3 separate regions of the Homo sapiens genome follow, and regions 1 and 3 are each linked to region 2. The links are contacts of gene promoters, found by promoter capture Hi-C in blood cells and fetal thymus (Javierre and others, 2016). All regions are on one chromosome and are shown on one strand. The core of a region is centred on a gene start or on the middle of the fragment in contact, and the rest is flanking DNA. Distances in the headings are between cores, read along the strand shown. Region 1 holds the start of TRP-CGG1-1 (tRNA-Pro (anticodon CGG) 1-1). Region 2 holds the start of CD247 (CD247 molecule). Region 3 overlaps POU2F1 (POU class 2 homeobox 1).

Region 1 (4,905 bases), core at 1,393-3,892, 200 kb before region 2:
AAGGAGAAAAGCAGTATAAACTTCTTAGGTGTCCAGGGCATATTTTTTTCCAGTTAGATTTTGATGAATACACTATCTGGCAATCTAGAACTTATTAACATTGTACAAGGTATTCTTATCCTCCCTCCTTTCCTGGAGCCCTAAGAAGAACTGAAGACTCAAGTTAGGGCAGTTTTAAATAAAACAAGGGTAAAGACAGCGCTAGATTTTCTATAATTTTCTGTTGTCAAACCATAGGAAGAAAGTGGACAGTTCGGAGTCGGTCACATAGTACTTGTTGTTAAATGTTTGTTGAAGAATGAGTAGGCTGGGCGCCGTGGCTCACGCCTGTAATCCCAGCACTTTGGGAGGCCAAGGCCGGCGGATCACAAGGTCGGGAGTTCGAGAACAGCCTGGCTAACATGGCGAAACCCCCATCTCTACTAAAAATACATTTGGTGCCCACCGTTTGTAATCCAGCTACTTGGGAGGCTGAGGCGGGAAAATTGCTTGAACCCGGGAGGCGGAGGTTGCAGTGAGCTGAGATTGCGCCACTGCACTCCAGCCTGGGTGACAGAGCAAGACTTCCGTCTCGGAAAAAAATAAAAAAGAATGAGCAATGAATGAATGAATGAATAAACCGATGAATGTATGACATATGAAATAAAATTAATGAATAGGTCTATTTAAGATAGTCACTCTGTCTACTTGTTTCCTATCTGGTTGGTTATTTGCTAGAATGACAATTCACAATTACTGTTTGTCAATGTGTTTGTCAACGTGTTAGGGAAGCAGCAGCCTAGGAAAGCTAGAATAATGCCATTTTAAGTTCAGCTCCATTTTAGGACTAACAAGGCACATTCCTTGCCTGCCACGACCCATAGTCATGGGATGTTTATAATTAAGGAAACAGCCTGAAGATAACTAGGACTGACTCCTACAACAGCAAGAAGTCCAAATGTCCTAATATCTACAACAATATATGCCTTTAAGATAATCACAGTTATGCTTTTACGTATTCACACACTAAAATGTCAATAATTGTCTTCTTTAAATCAACAGAGTAACAAAATTTGTCATGTTGTCTGCTCACCCGTATGTAGGCACAGCTTAGCCTAGCTTTTACATAGGTAAGATCACTATATAAGAAAAACTTAAGAACGGGGTGTTTCTCCTCCTACTTTCTGAGAACATCCTGCTCTGTAACAGAGTAGTTTCCAATAAACTTGCTTCTTTCACCCTGAATTCTTTCCTGCACGAGATCCAAGAACCCTCTCTCCAGGTTCGGTGAAGACCCCTTTTTCCGGCAACAAAAGTACTAAAATGCAGTGAGCCATGATCATGCCACTGCACTCCAGCCCGGGCGACAGAGTGAGACCCTGTATCAAACAAAAAACACCTAAAATTCGTATTGTTAAGGAATTTGAGACAAATTGTAATCATTCAGAATCATTCATTGAGCACCAGCTTCCTTATGATAAGCCTCAATGCTAAGTATTTAAGAATTTAGGGCCAGGCACGGTGGTAATCCCAGCACTTTGGCAGGCCGAGGCAGGTGGATCACGAGGTCAGGAGATCGAGACCATCTTAGCTAACACGGTGAAACCCCGACTCTATTAAAATACAAAAAAAATTAGCCAGGCGTGGTGGCGGGCGCCTGTAGTCCCAGCTACTGGGGTGGCTGAGGCAGGAGAATGGCATGAACCCAGGAGGCGGAGCTTGCAGTGAGCCGAGATCGCGCCACTGCACTCCAGCCTGGGTGACAGAGCTAGACTCTGTCTCAAAAAAAAAAAAAAAAAAAAAAAAAAAAAAAAAAGAAATTAGGCCGGGCGCAGTGGCTCACGCTTGTACTTTGGGAGGCCGAGGAGGGTGGATCAACTGAGGTCAGGAGTTGGAGACCAGCCTGGCCAACATGGTGAAACCCGCCTCTACTAAAAATACAAAAATTAGCTGGGCATGGTGGCAGGTGCCTGTAATCCCAGCTACTCGGGAGGCGGAGAATCGCTTGAACCTGGAGGGCGGAGGGGGCGGAGGTTGCAGTGAGCCGAGATCACACCACTTCTCTCCAGCCTGGCGAAAGAGCGAAGCGAGACAACGTCTCAAAAAAAAAAAAAAAAAAAGAAAGAAAGGAAAAAGAATTTAAAATATAGTTAAGAAGCCATGCTTACTATATCTAATTAAAGATATTGGGACAATCGAACAGCAATCACACAATTGGTTGCCAATTCTACAGTAGAATTTCGTGTTGGTGTAGGTGTCTTGCGCTCTAAGAAGTTACAGTTGGAGGAGATAAGACTGAAACCCAGTTATTTACCACATACTATTGGTTTTGATATGTTAAAGGATCTTTTTCTGGGAAGGTTAGAGTTTGGGATTTGTCCAAAAGCAAACAGGTTTTCCAGCTGAAGAGAACACTTCGAGTAAAAACAGAGATGGGAATTCACAAGGCTAGATAGGTAGGGCTTTGAATATTACAATAAAAAATATCGGCAAGAAACCGAGATTTTAACATTATAGAAAAGTGCGAAAAAGAACGAATGAAACATCCAGAACTCACTCAGTAACGGAGAGAGTCTGGAATCTGCCACAGTGACATTGTCCCACACTAATAGCCATTTATTAGCCATGAATAGAAATACAATTACAATTTTCGAAATAAGAGGTCGATATTATACTGATAGTGACAATTTTGCTGTCTTCTGTGTTACTGATTTTCAAAGAGCAAAACAGAAAAGAAAGAAAATTGAAAACGCGGTATCTATAGAAAGCAAACACAACCCAAAGATCGAATCCTAACATGCGAGCAACCACTTGAGGGCGCAGGACTAAATAGCTATGTGTTCCTTTCTGATGACAGTAAGGTGGAGTTTGTGTCGGCTCGTTGGTCTAGGGGTATGATTCTCGCTTAGGGTGCGAGAGGTCCCGGGTTCAAATCCCGGACGAGCCCTGTTTTGGAGTAAGAATCACTTAAAGGTGAGTTTTTTTGGGGATAGATTACTAAACGTAATAAATACAGGTTGGTCAGAGTAAAACACAAAATTGAGATTTTTGGAAACTTAGAGCACACTCTACATTGAAATACCATTAAAAGGCCTCATTTTGAAAATGTAAAAAGTTTGCTAGTAATGTAGTATTGTACTATGAAAACATTGTCCCTAGCTGTCTATTCCTGGGTGCAGCGCGTGTACAGGGCCATCGGGAGCTCAGTTCTTGGCTGCCTATGGCGTGGTTTAAACTCATCCACGACAGTGCCCCTCATCGGGGGTGGGGATATCTCCTGAGCGCCCCTTTCCTCGGAAATGCTGATTCCCGAACCCCGGGACATGCTAATCCATGACGCCCCCTGCTCGTTTGGAGGAGTTAAAGGCGTGCACAGGATTCCGCACTAGGCGTCTGTTTTTCAAGAGTGTGTGTTTTACATGGTACAAAGCAATTTGAATGCGTTGCCTTTGGGCGTACAGTAACCATATGTTGTATTAATTGAGCTCACATGGTCCCTCGCTTCAAAAAACAAAGGGGATCAACATTCGAGCTCATGGGACCAGTATGTTTTCATTTAAGTTTCTGAATGGAATATGTGGGGAATTAGGGGGAAAAAATCTGTTTTTAAATTTCGGGTGTGGGGTGGGTAAAAGCCTGGGCTCGTCCGGGATTTGAACCCGGGACCTCTCGCACCCGAAGCGAGAATCATACCCCTAGACCAACGAGCCGCTCTCGGCAAGGGCACTCCCAGAGCTTCCCTTCAGCCTTGTTCCGCCTCTCACCTCGTGTTCCGAGCAACCACGACCTGCGACCCTTATACTGCGTGTCCTCTGATTCCCTAAGCCTCGGGTCCGGAGCGCTTACTGCCCCACAGCGTGGAGGAGCAGGGAGGGACCGGCTTTTGCCTGGTCCGGCCGTTCCAACCCCCCATCGCCGGCGTGGCCTCCACGTTCGCACGCGCTCCCGGAAGCCGCCTTCCGGCTTACGGGCTCGCCCCGGCTGTTCCACTCGCAGTGTTGGCGGGCGCCCGGGAGCCCGGGCTGAGGAAAGTGCGGGGCGGGGCAGGGCGCCTCAGGACGCAGCCCGGTGCCAAGTCCCGGCGGCGCCCCGCCCGCGCCCAGCCCGTCAGTGCACGCAGAGCTGGGCCTGCTCGCTCCGCGAGTGGGTCGGTGAATGAAGACGGGGAGTCCGAGCGAGGGAAGGGAATACCCGAATCCTGGCTAAGAAAGGGGTGGTGGGAGACGAAATCCCATAGGAGTGAATATTAAGTTAACTCCCCGAACCTTCATTTGGGGATAGTGCACTCTTTTAAGCCCTTTGCTTGTATTGAACTCACCTGATATTCGTAATAATCCCCTAGGTGCCATTGTATCTCCATTTGCAGATGAGGAAACTGAGGCTCAGAGATGTTAAGTCGCTCACATAAATCCACTGGGCTAGGAGCTGGCGGTGGCGCTGGTCTAGGAACTCCCGAGGTCCTGGAGGGTGGGACAACTGGGGGCTGGGGCGTGTGAAAGGGACTGGAGAGTTGGGGAGAAGATTGGTACCTCGGTAGCTTGGAGAAGAGAGGGCAGTGGCAGTGGGCCGGGTCTTCTCCCTCCCGTCCAGCAGAAAATGTGGGCCTGCCCTACTGCTCTTCTGCTCAGAGGAGCGGGAGTCCGAGTGCGGGGTCTCCCGCCGGTGTGGTTTCCCGGCCTGGGGTCTAGCTCGTCTTGCCTGCTTTCCGGACTGCTCTCACCGCTTCCCCCCACTTCACGACCCCAGCCCGCCACTCTGCACTCCGGCTCCTTGCAGTCTGTGGCCAAGTTGCAGACGTCCCTTATTTCTAAAACACTCTTGCATTCTTAGGCTACTTTCAGTTCAGCGTAAGAGAAATCCATTGCTCTGTAGCCTGGTCAGACGTTCTTCCAGGTCCTGGTGGTGCTTTTGCCCTGTCACCTGCTA
Region 2 (4,316 bases), core at 1,497-3,996:
AAGTATGCATCCTTCAAGCTGAGTAAAAGCTAAACAAACATACATCGGATAGAAACAAACAACAATAAAATCCTTATGGCTTTGTTGATCACTGTGGTGTTTAATTGACTCTATTTTAAGACTTTTCTACACTTAGCCCTCTCTCCCTACTCAAGGTGCAGCAAATCACTTTTTTGTTAATAATGCATGTCTGGATCTTATCTTGGCTGTGTCTGTATTGCAGTCAATGGTTCAAGTCCTCAAGGCCACTGCCAGCACCCTGGCACATGGGGGCCCTCTGCTGTCTTTGTTGTCCTGTTGACTGCTAAAGAACTCAGGCTAACAATGTTACTACCCACATTCATGAGTTACTTGTTGCTGGTTGTCATCTGTTGCCTTTCAAGTCTTTTCTGGAATCTAATTGTTTTTTGTTTGTTTGTTTGTTTTGTTTTGTTTTTGGTCTGGAACCCAGAAGACATTTATCTAATAAAATATTAGGTGATAATTTCCTAAGAATTTCAACAGATTTAAACATTTTGTCTTTAACATGGGTGAGTTAAAATCACTTACACTATACAAAAGTTAAGCATGTTTCCATCACCACTTTTCAGATAATAAAACCTCTTTCATTTCCGTGTCCATGGGGAACTATGCACCCTAAGGTCCTCCACACGTGGGAGGGGAGAATCTGTTCAGGAACTCTCTGAAGTCAGTATTCATCAAGAAATGGGTATTTGGGATGATCACACCACATGAGCATTTCTATGAAGCGGACATTTTCACTCCAGGCTTCAATGTCCTTGATTCAGTGAGAGAAAAGTCAAAGGCCTGAAGGTTTTCCTTGATCTTTTCAGGATTAAAGCTTTTAGGAATGACAACCACCCCTTGCTGGATGTTGAAACGCAAAATAACTTGAGCTGTGATCTTATTGCACCTTTTTAGAAGTGCATCCTTTAACGAAGGCAGAGAAGACATATTTGTCCAGGTTGGATTCCTAGTGGTCCCCAAAGGGCTATATGCAATCATGACAATGTCATGTTGTTGGCGAAATTTCAAAAGTTTTGGTTGGGTGTAATATGGGTGGCACTCAACCTCGTTGCTGACTGGCTTGGGTTTGAGTCCTGGGTTGTTCTGGATGAGCTCCAGCTGGCCTGCTGTTAAAACTGGATACTCCGAGGGATTTCACCAAGCCAGCATCTTTACAAGCTTCCGAAGTCTCCCAAGTGGCACACAGATTTGACTTGTGATATAACCATTTGCCATTCTCACCTATAGGGTAGATTTTGTCTTCTGGCTTAGCGGCCATGGGTATTTCAGTGATGTAAAGATCCACACAATCTAGCTGGAGGACCTTGAGCATCCTCTCTAGGCTCGGGCAGACCAGCTCTGGGTTGTGATTTGTAGCCCACAGTTTTCCACAGTAGAAGATATCCTTCCTCTGCACCTTTCCTTCTGCTATTTTCCCCCTGATGGCCTCCCCAGCTGTGTCTTCATTTTGGTATATGTAGGCTTCATCAGTGTGTCAGCACCCCAGACCAATGACAACCTTCACTGATGAAGACTCAGACTAAATGTAGAGACAGACTACTTGGGCTGTAGTGACATCTCTACCTACCACCTACTTGCTGTGTGGCCTTGAGTAAGTCATCGGCCCCCTTAGGGGTCAATTTAGGCTCTGAGTAGGTACCAAGTCTGATGATGGGAATGCTGTTTCCATCACTTAGAGGTATGCGGTGATTTGCAGGACTCACTTTCTTCATAGTGTCCTTTGATGCACAAAAACTTTTAATTGTGATGAAGTCCAATTTATCAATTTTATGTTGGATTGCTGTGACTTTGGATTATTGGCTATTCTTGTACATTAATTTTTTTCATATCAATTTTGGAATCAGCTTAACTTGTTCTAAAACTTTTTGTTGGTATTTTCAATGAAATAGATTGATTAATTAAGAGAGAATGGTGGTCTCCTTAAAAGAGAGCTTCCTATCAAAGAAGGGTATGCCTTTCCATTTACCCAAGTCCTTTCGGCGTTCTTCAGCAATGTTTTAAAGTTTGTTTCATATAGATATATTACAATTTTTAGACGAAGTTTATGTCTAGGTTTTAATGTTTTATTATTGTAAATTACTCTGGTGTTTAAATGTTGACAACTAACACAAGTGTTTAAAATACTATGTGAGCTACAGTATTTCACACAATGATCCAAATTCAGGCCAAGTTCAGATCTGCAACCTCAGATCTACTCCAGCTCTTTGCTTTATAGATAAGGAAGCTGAAGTCTAGAGATGTTGAGTGACTGACTCAACGCCACACAGCAAGTAGGTGGTAGGCAGAGATGTCACTAAAGCCCAAGGAATCTGTCTCTACATTTGTCCTGGACTCTAATCCAGGGTTCTGTCATTTTGCCAGCCACCATAAAATATTTGACAGTCTAGGAAAACAGCAAATGTTCTTACATCCATCGAGAACTTGTATTTGCCTAGAGATGGACTTTACCAATCAAGATAGGAATTAGATAAGAATTATTTTTTTTAAAAAAAGGAGCATTAAAACAATGGTCAAATGAGAGAAAAAGCAAAATTCAGACAGACAGATACATACACACACCCCAAACCCTCAAACCTCCAGGGCTTCCTGCCTGTGAACCGAAAGGGGGAGTGCGAATTTCTTGGCCCTGTCGGCAGGTGCTTTCTCAAAGGCCCCACAGTCCTCCACTTCCTGGGGAGGTAGCTGCAGAATAAAACCAGCAGAGACTCCTTTTCTCCTAACCGTCCCGGCCACCGCTGCCTCAGCCTCTGCCTCCCAGCCTCTTTCTGAGGGAAAGGACAAGATGAAGTGGAAGGCGCTTTTCACCGCGGCCATCCTGCAGGCACAGTTGCCGATTACAGGTAGGGCCGACGTGTCGACGGCAGGGAACTTCTAGAAACTCTTTGTGTATGTGTAGGGGAGTGGGTGTGGGTAGTGGAGGGTGGTGAGGGGCTGGGGTCTCCTTCAAATCCTGCCCTCCTCAAATCAATGGGCAAGTGAGCAGTGAGGGGTCCGGCCCGGTGCTGGCATCTGCTCCGTCACAGCCGAGTTGGGCATCAGTTCAGAGCCAGCTGCTAGAATACACAGCTCCTCCAGGTACAGATTTTTCGAGTGATAAGAGAGGAAGGAAGAAGGAAGCAAGAGAGCAACCGAGGCAGGCCCAGGGTAGAGAAACGGAGAGGGAGTGTTTCACAGAAGCTGGACAGGATCGGAAAATGTCAGCCAGGCCATGTTTCGTGCTGCGACGTTCTAGTCCCTTCAGCTTCTTTCACCCTCTGGCTGGCTCCGTCACTCAGCCCCTTTCTTTCTTCCTTTGCCAACAAAGAAGATTTTGTTGGTCAGTCAAGGTCATGGCCTGAAACACTCCAATGGGCCCGGGAGTAAGTGGGGTAACCAAGGAGGAGAGGGGCACAGGCAGGAAGCACCGGGTGGCAGCCTCCACAGCGCCTTCGCCACCTCATGGCCAAGCGTCCGTGTCTAGGCTCAGCCTTGTCATGGCTGTCCCCACACCCACGCCTGGGACTGCCGGGTGACGCACCATCCCAGGCTCCGTGACTCACCCCAGCCTGCCCCTTAGGCGGCCATCTAGCCCAGCCAGAGGGCCCGGCATTGACAGAACACGGGGCAGATGAGACGATGTGCCTGGTTAAGTCACCACCACGAGCAGCGCCCAGCCAACAAGAGTGCTTGCTCCTCACCTCATTCCCGATCGTGGGAGCCCAGCTTTGCTGCAAGCCTTTAGCTTCCACCATGTTTTCTAGCCCAGGTAATGAGGAAGAAAACCAGTGAAAAGAGGACAGGACAAACTGCTCAGGGGGATCAGCCTCGTGGCATCTTCCTGAGAAGTGGGGCAGGCTGAATTTCAATCTAAAGAAACAGGGAAGGTGAAGCAAGCAAATGTCCTCGGCCCACCTGATCGCTCCTGGTAACTCACCTGGGTGTGGGAATTTGTTTAGGGGCCCTGTTGGGAGGGCAGGAGAGGCCATGGGCACTTCTGCTCCCACCAGGGAGCCAGGCACAGCCCGGGCCAGCGCCTCGGGGGATTCTGAGGCCCGTGCAGCTGCAGGGGTTTCTGTCAGGTCACAGCTGTTTTCTCAGAAAAGCCTTGTGGGGTCTAAGTCACACACACAGTGTGGCAGAGTGAGGGTGCCTGAGCTTGCTCAGAGCAGCCCATCCTTGTGTGCTGGGGACAAGGGGACCCAGAACGCTGGAATTTAGTGACTTCAGGGGAGACAGCCAGGGGCAATAGCTCCAGCCTCTGAGCTTCAGGCTTGAGACACCACACCAGGGAGCTCATATAACCTTTCAGG
Region 3 (4,913 bases), core at 1,948-4,447, 240 kb after region 2:
AGTCAACTGTTTGAACCATGTTCAAATGAGGCAAATGCTGAGCTGTAACCAATCCAGCTGTTTCTGTACCTCACTCCCATTTTCTATACATCACTTTCCTTTTTTTGTCCATAAATCTTCTTCCATCATGTGGCTGCACTGGAGTCTCTGAGCCTACTATGGCTGGGAGGCCTGCCCGATTGGCAAACCGTCAGTTGCTGAATTAAATTCTTTTAAATTTAATTCAGCCGAGGTTTTTCTTTTATCACTACCTTCTTCCTGATCAAATACTCCTTAACAGACTGTCTCACTCCAGAATGATTCTCAGATGTCAGGCAACCCTCATTTCACTTTTCAGTTGTCACCCAGTTAACTCTATCACACCTAGAGCTGTATCACAGGTCTTGGTTACTCATATTTGGCTCAGAATAAGACGCTTTAAATATTTTACAGAGTTTGACTCTTTCGTCAATACCCAAATACATTATGTACATTTTAAGTTAAGACCGGTCTATAAATGGACCTTTGGAGAACTGTATCTATTCATTTAAACCAGTCACAAATGAAGACTAAACACTCCACCCTCTTCCTATGGGGATGTAATCTTGTAAGATACTTAGCATTTAAGATACTTAGCTTTGGTGGAGAGGGGGCAGGCAGGACTTGACACTATTTATATGAATGACATTGAAAATATGATTTACATTAGTGTTACCAGGCACTTTAAAAGCACTTAATAGATGTGACTCCTGTGTGTTCCTACTTTATTGATACAATACAGCATAGTAACAAACATATAAACACTTAATAAACGCCTTTGGCATGAGGACTGCTTGAAATCTAAGCTGATACTTTAGCACAATTATAATTTCACAGAAAGGGTTGGAAAGAAGGAAAATCTTACTTTTTATGCTTAGGACTTTTTAAAAAATGAGACTATTCAAAGACCATGCAAAAGAAGTTATCTTAGTGAAATGGGAAGAAAAGTCAAAGGTTCACAAAAGGCTAAATCAAAATCATTTCAAAACAAAGGAAGCAAAACTGATCTGTAACACATCTTGACACAAAGGGCCATGTAAAAGCCCAGTGTTGCCTATCGTTTTAAAGGTAACTGTCATAATACTGTTCATACCTTTAGGTAATTCTGGCTGACACTGATACAGGATGACTGACTATAGAAACTGTTTTATTGAGAGCCTAACATGTTCACTAGTGGGAAGTGTTCAGAGTTATTTTTCCACATTCTCCAAATGAATAGACTAGCTATAAAAACTAAAAGTCTGAAAAAAAAAAAAACCCTACATAACAGTAATGGCAATAAAATCTCTCTTTAAAAAAAAAAATCAAGCTCAAACACCAAGCATATTTGCTACATATCATGTCCACTTTTATTTTCATAAGATCTGGAGAGGAAAGCTTTATTATTTCTGATATCACACATTTACAATAAGTTTTTTTTTTTTTTCCCCGAGACAGAGTATCACTCTGTCGCCCAGGCTGGAGTGCACAATCTCAGCTCACTGCAACCTCCACCTGCTGGGTTCGAGCGATTCTCCTGCCTCAACCTCCAGACTAGCTGAGATTACAGGCGCCTGGCTAATTTTTGTATTTTCAGTAAAAACGGGGTTTCACCATGTTGGTCAGGCTGGTCTCAAACTCCCGACCTCAGGTGATCTGCCCACCTCGACCTCCCAAAGTGCTGAGATTACAGGAGTGAGCCACTATGCCCTGCCAACAATATGGTTTTAAATACAAATCATTTTGTCAAGTCAGAGTGCTTATCCTATGTTTCCAAACATAGTTTCCATGAATCACTTTTTTCTCAATCTAGACAAGTAAACCTGCTTGCTAACCCTTCCAGAACTTAAGTTCCATCCATCATCTGTCCCCACCCAACTCCCATCAATATTTATTCCCTCTGGAACATATGGTTTTTTTTGAGATGGAGTCTCGCTCTGAGGCCCAGGCTGGAGTGCAGTGGTGCAATCTCAGCTCACCGCAATCTCCGCCTCCAGGGTTCAAGCAATTCTCCTACCTCAGCCTCCCAAGTAGTTGGGATTACAGGTGTGAGCCACCATGCACGGCCCCCTCTGGAACATTTAAGCTGCAGTTCCCTCTACCAAGAATCACATTTTTCCTCTGTTCTAAGTCATAACTCTTCTCACCTTTAAAATATTACTCAAGCTCATATAACTAAATTATCAAGAATTTCTATATTTATCTGGATTGCGAGGGTAGGTCACACATTATTCTCTTAACTCTGTTACATGTTCTGTCATGGGGGGACACAACATCAATAAGAAAAATGATCTTTTTCATAAACTTACTTTTGATAACTTGTAACAGCTCTTGTCTGCATCACAGGGCAGAGGTCAGTTGCATTACATTATAAAACAAAAGACTGAATTTCTTTATCCATGTTAATTAAACCTTTTTTATTCACGTTTGCTATATCTCATCAGTTAACAACATTTGTTACATACCACTACCCATGATTCTGCATATTCTACACATAATGTGTGTTCATTTAACATTATCAGGCGTATGCTGTAAGCACTGTGTACCATTATAATCAGGGGGGAATAGAAGGAAATGGAAGAACATGGAGACACCAATCCTGTTCCAATAGCATTTGAATATCTTTAAGCTGTGTAATTATGTATTCCCCTTAATTTACCTAACTAATTACAATCAAATGAAAAAATATCTTTCAGATGATCATTTTATTTGCAAAGTGTTTTACTTAAAGAATCATACTCAAAGACACAAATATGTACCCATGTGAAATAGGTCTTGAAAACCAAATTTAAAATAAATTCTATTAAAATAGAATTTTATTAAATTCTATTAAAATAGAAAAACAAATGAAGGGGATAGCCAATTAAAGTTTGCAAAATGTCTGGCGTATTGTAAGCACTGAAACGCTTGCTGAAAAGTGAGCTAAGTCAACGTATCTTTTTTTAGAAGACTTGTCAGGACAGGTAAAAATAAAGTTCCCAGACAATCTGAACAGATTCAATTCCACAGCTCAGGAATTAGCTGATTTTACCTGACCTTTAGTTCCTAAACTGTGTCGAATGATAAATGTAACATTATCTTCATCGTTGAAGCCTAATCAGATTATGCTGAGCCCTAAAATTTCCTGAAGCAAAATTTATGGACAAATGACAAATACCCTAGATCTAGAGAAAGGACAAACTCAAGTCATTTAACCATTATCTATGAAATCCCTACCATGTGCCAGGTGCTGGAGATACAGCAGTGAGTAAAGCAGACAAGGTCCCATCCCTCTTGGGAGTTTTCAGTCTCAGAGATACATAATAACAAATTATGATAAATGCTATAAGCAAAAGAACAGAATCTTACAAGACCATATATCAATAATCACTTTTTCTATAGAAACAGTCTTTGTGTTGAGACGTGAAGAATGAAATGGAAATTGACTAAGCAGAGAAGTAAAAGGTCAGAGCATGGTACCTGTGAGAATCTGAACAAAAGTCTCAGTGGCTCAAGTGCAGAGGGTTTGAAAAATAAGAGGGGAGGTGGAGAAGTAGGCCTGGGGAATGTTAGTCTTTATCCTAAGAGTAGCAGGAAATAATGCTATGGAGGAGAATGACATGACTGGATTTGTGTTTTCATAGGATACAGTACCCTAGCTTCAGTGTACAGAACAAATTTAACAAGGATATGGAGGGCTACTATTGTGCTGCAAGGGGGAGATAATCCTACTCAGACTAAGACAGCAGAGAATATGGATTTGAAAATTATTAAAGGATGTCAAATAGACAGGCCTTAGTACAGTAAGAATTTGGGAAGTGAGGGAGAGGGGGTATTAGGAATTACTCCTAAGTCTTTAACTTGGAAAACTGGAATAAAAAAGGTGATGCTATTCACTGACATGTGGGACACCAGAGGATGGCATGCGGCATCAGCGAGTAGTAACTGAGGCCATTGGGATAGATATAATTGCTGGGTCGTAGAATGAAAAGAAATGGAAGCCTAGGACTGAGCTTTCACAAAATCTGACATCTCTGGACAACAAAGGTGGCTGGGGTGAGGTGGCTCATGCCTGTAATCCGAGGCTTTGGAAGGCTGAGGTAGGATCGTTTGAGGTCAGGAGTTCAAGACTGGCCTAGGCAATTTTTTTTTTTTTTTTTTAATTAGCCAGGTATGGTTGACACGTAAAAATGGAGTTAGTTCCCAGACATTCTGAACAGATTCAATTCCAGCTCAGGAACTGGCTGGTTTTACCTGATCTTTAGTTCCTAAACTGTGTCAAATGAACACAGTTACTTAGGAGGCCAAGGCAGGTAGATCACTTAAGCCCAGGAGTGTGAGGTTGCAGTGAGCTATGATTGCGCCACTGCACTCCAGCCTAGGCAGCAGAGCAAGATCCCAACTCTTAAAAAACAAAAAACAAAACAAAACAAAAAACCCAAAGTAGACAAAGCAGGAGTTACCAGAGACATGAGAAGAGAACCGAGAAAGCACGACCTCACAGCTTTCAGGGAAAAAAAGGTTTCACAAAGAGTTGGTGGTTGAGAGTGTCAAACACCACTGAGAGGTCAAATAAGAACAGGTCTGAAAGAATGCTTATTAGATTTCATGACCTGAAGGTCACTGATGATCTTAAGAATACTTCCCAGAATAGTGAACTATTCCATGGCTTAGACTGGCAGTAGAATGCAACAAGAGCACATTCTACTCACTCATTAAACTCCTTTCTTGTTTTCTTTTTTTCTGCCCATCCTTTCTTGCTCTGCACTCTCTCCTGACTTCAATATGGCTTCCTTTCTCATCTTTTTTGTTCTATCTACTCATTTCTTTCTTCTCCATACTTATTGATTTTCTCCTTTGCCTTTCCCACCCTTATTTGATGACAATATGGAACTGAAAATACTTCATTTTTTATTGAATACTTCCATTCTTCCTGT

What was found. Contacts are between HindIII fragments. The CHiCAGO score rates a contact against its expected background, and 5 or more counts as called.
Region 1: a contact is called between a fragment that was not itself captured here and the fragment with the promoter of CD247 in region 2, in 1 of 17 cell types (fetal thymus). The highest score is 5.1, in fetal thymus.
Region 3: a contact is called between a fragment that was not itself captured here and the fragment with the promoter of CD247 in region 2, in 8 of 17 cell types (activated CD4 T cells, total CD4 T cells, neutrophils and 5 more). The highest score is 7.2, in activated CD4 T cells.

Annotation. Positions count from the first base shown.
Region 1 is chr1:167,713,509-167,718,413 of GRCh38, reverse strand. It overlaps TRP-CGG1-1 (tRNA-Pro (anticodon CGG) 1-1), which reads right to left and starts at 3,689; the gene lies at 3,618-3,689. TRP-AGG2-1 (tRNA-Pro (anticodon AGG) 2-1) reads left to right here and starts at 2,855; the gene lies at 2,855-2,926. RefSeq lists silencers at 3,569-3,668, 3,969-4,208 and enhancers at 4,679-4,838, 4,333-4,905. The HindIII fragment of the contact is 8,006 bases long and covers 1-4,905 here.
Region 2 is chr1:167,516,959-167,521,274 of GRCh38, reverse strand. CD247 (CD247 molecule) reads left to right here and starts at 2,746. Exons shown (of 8, transcript NM_198053.3): 1 at 2,746-2,867. The coding sequence starts at 2,810. It also overlaps the pseudogene AKR1D1P1. RefSeq lists enhancers at 2,915-4,114, 3,386-4,316. The HindIII fragment of the contact is 3,961 bases long and covers 1,188-4,316 here.
Region 3 is chr1:167,276,723-167,281,635 of GRCh38, reverse strand. The region is part of intron 1 of POU2F1 (POU class 2 homeobox 1); the gene reads right to left. It overlaps LOC124900412 (a long non-coding RNA gene), which reads right to left. Exons shown (of 2, transcript XR_007066718.1): 2 at 1-4,913. Among named protein-coding and RNA genes, the nearest start is that of POU2F1, 58 kb to the right of the region's middle. The HindIII fragment of the contact is 3,600 bases long and covers 1,398-4,913 here.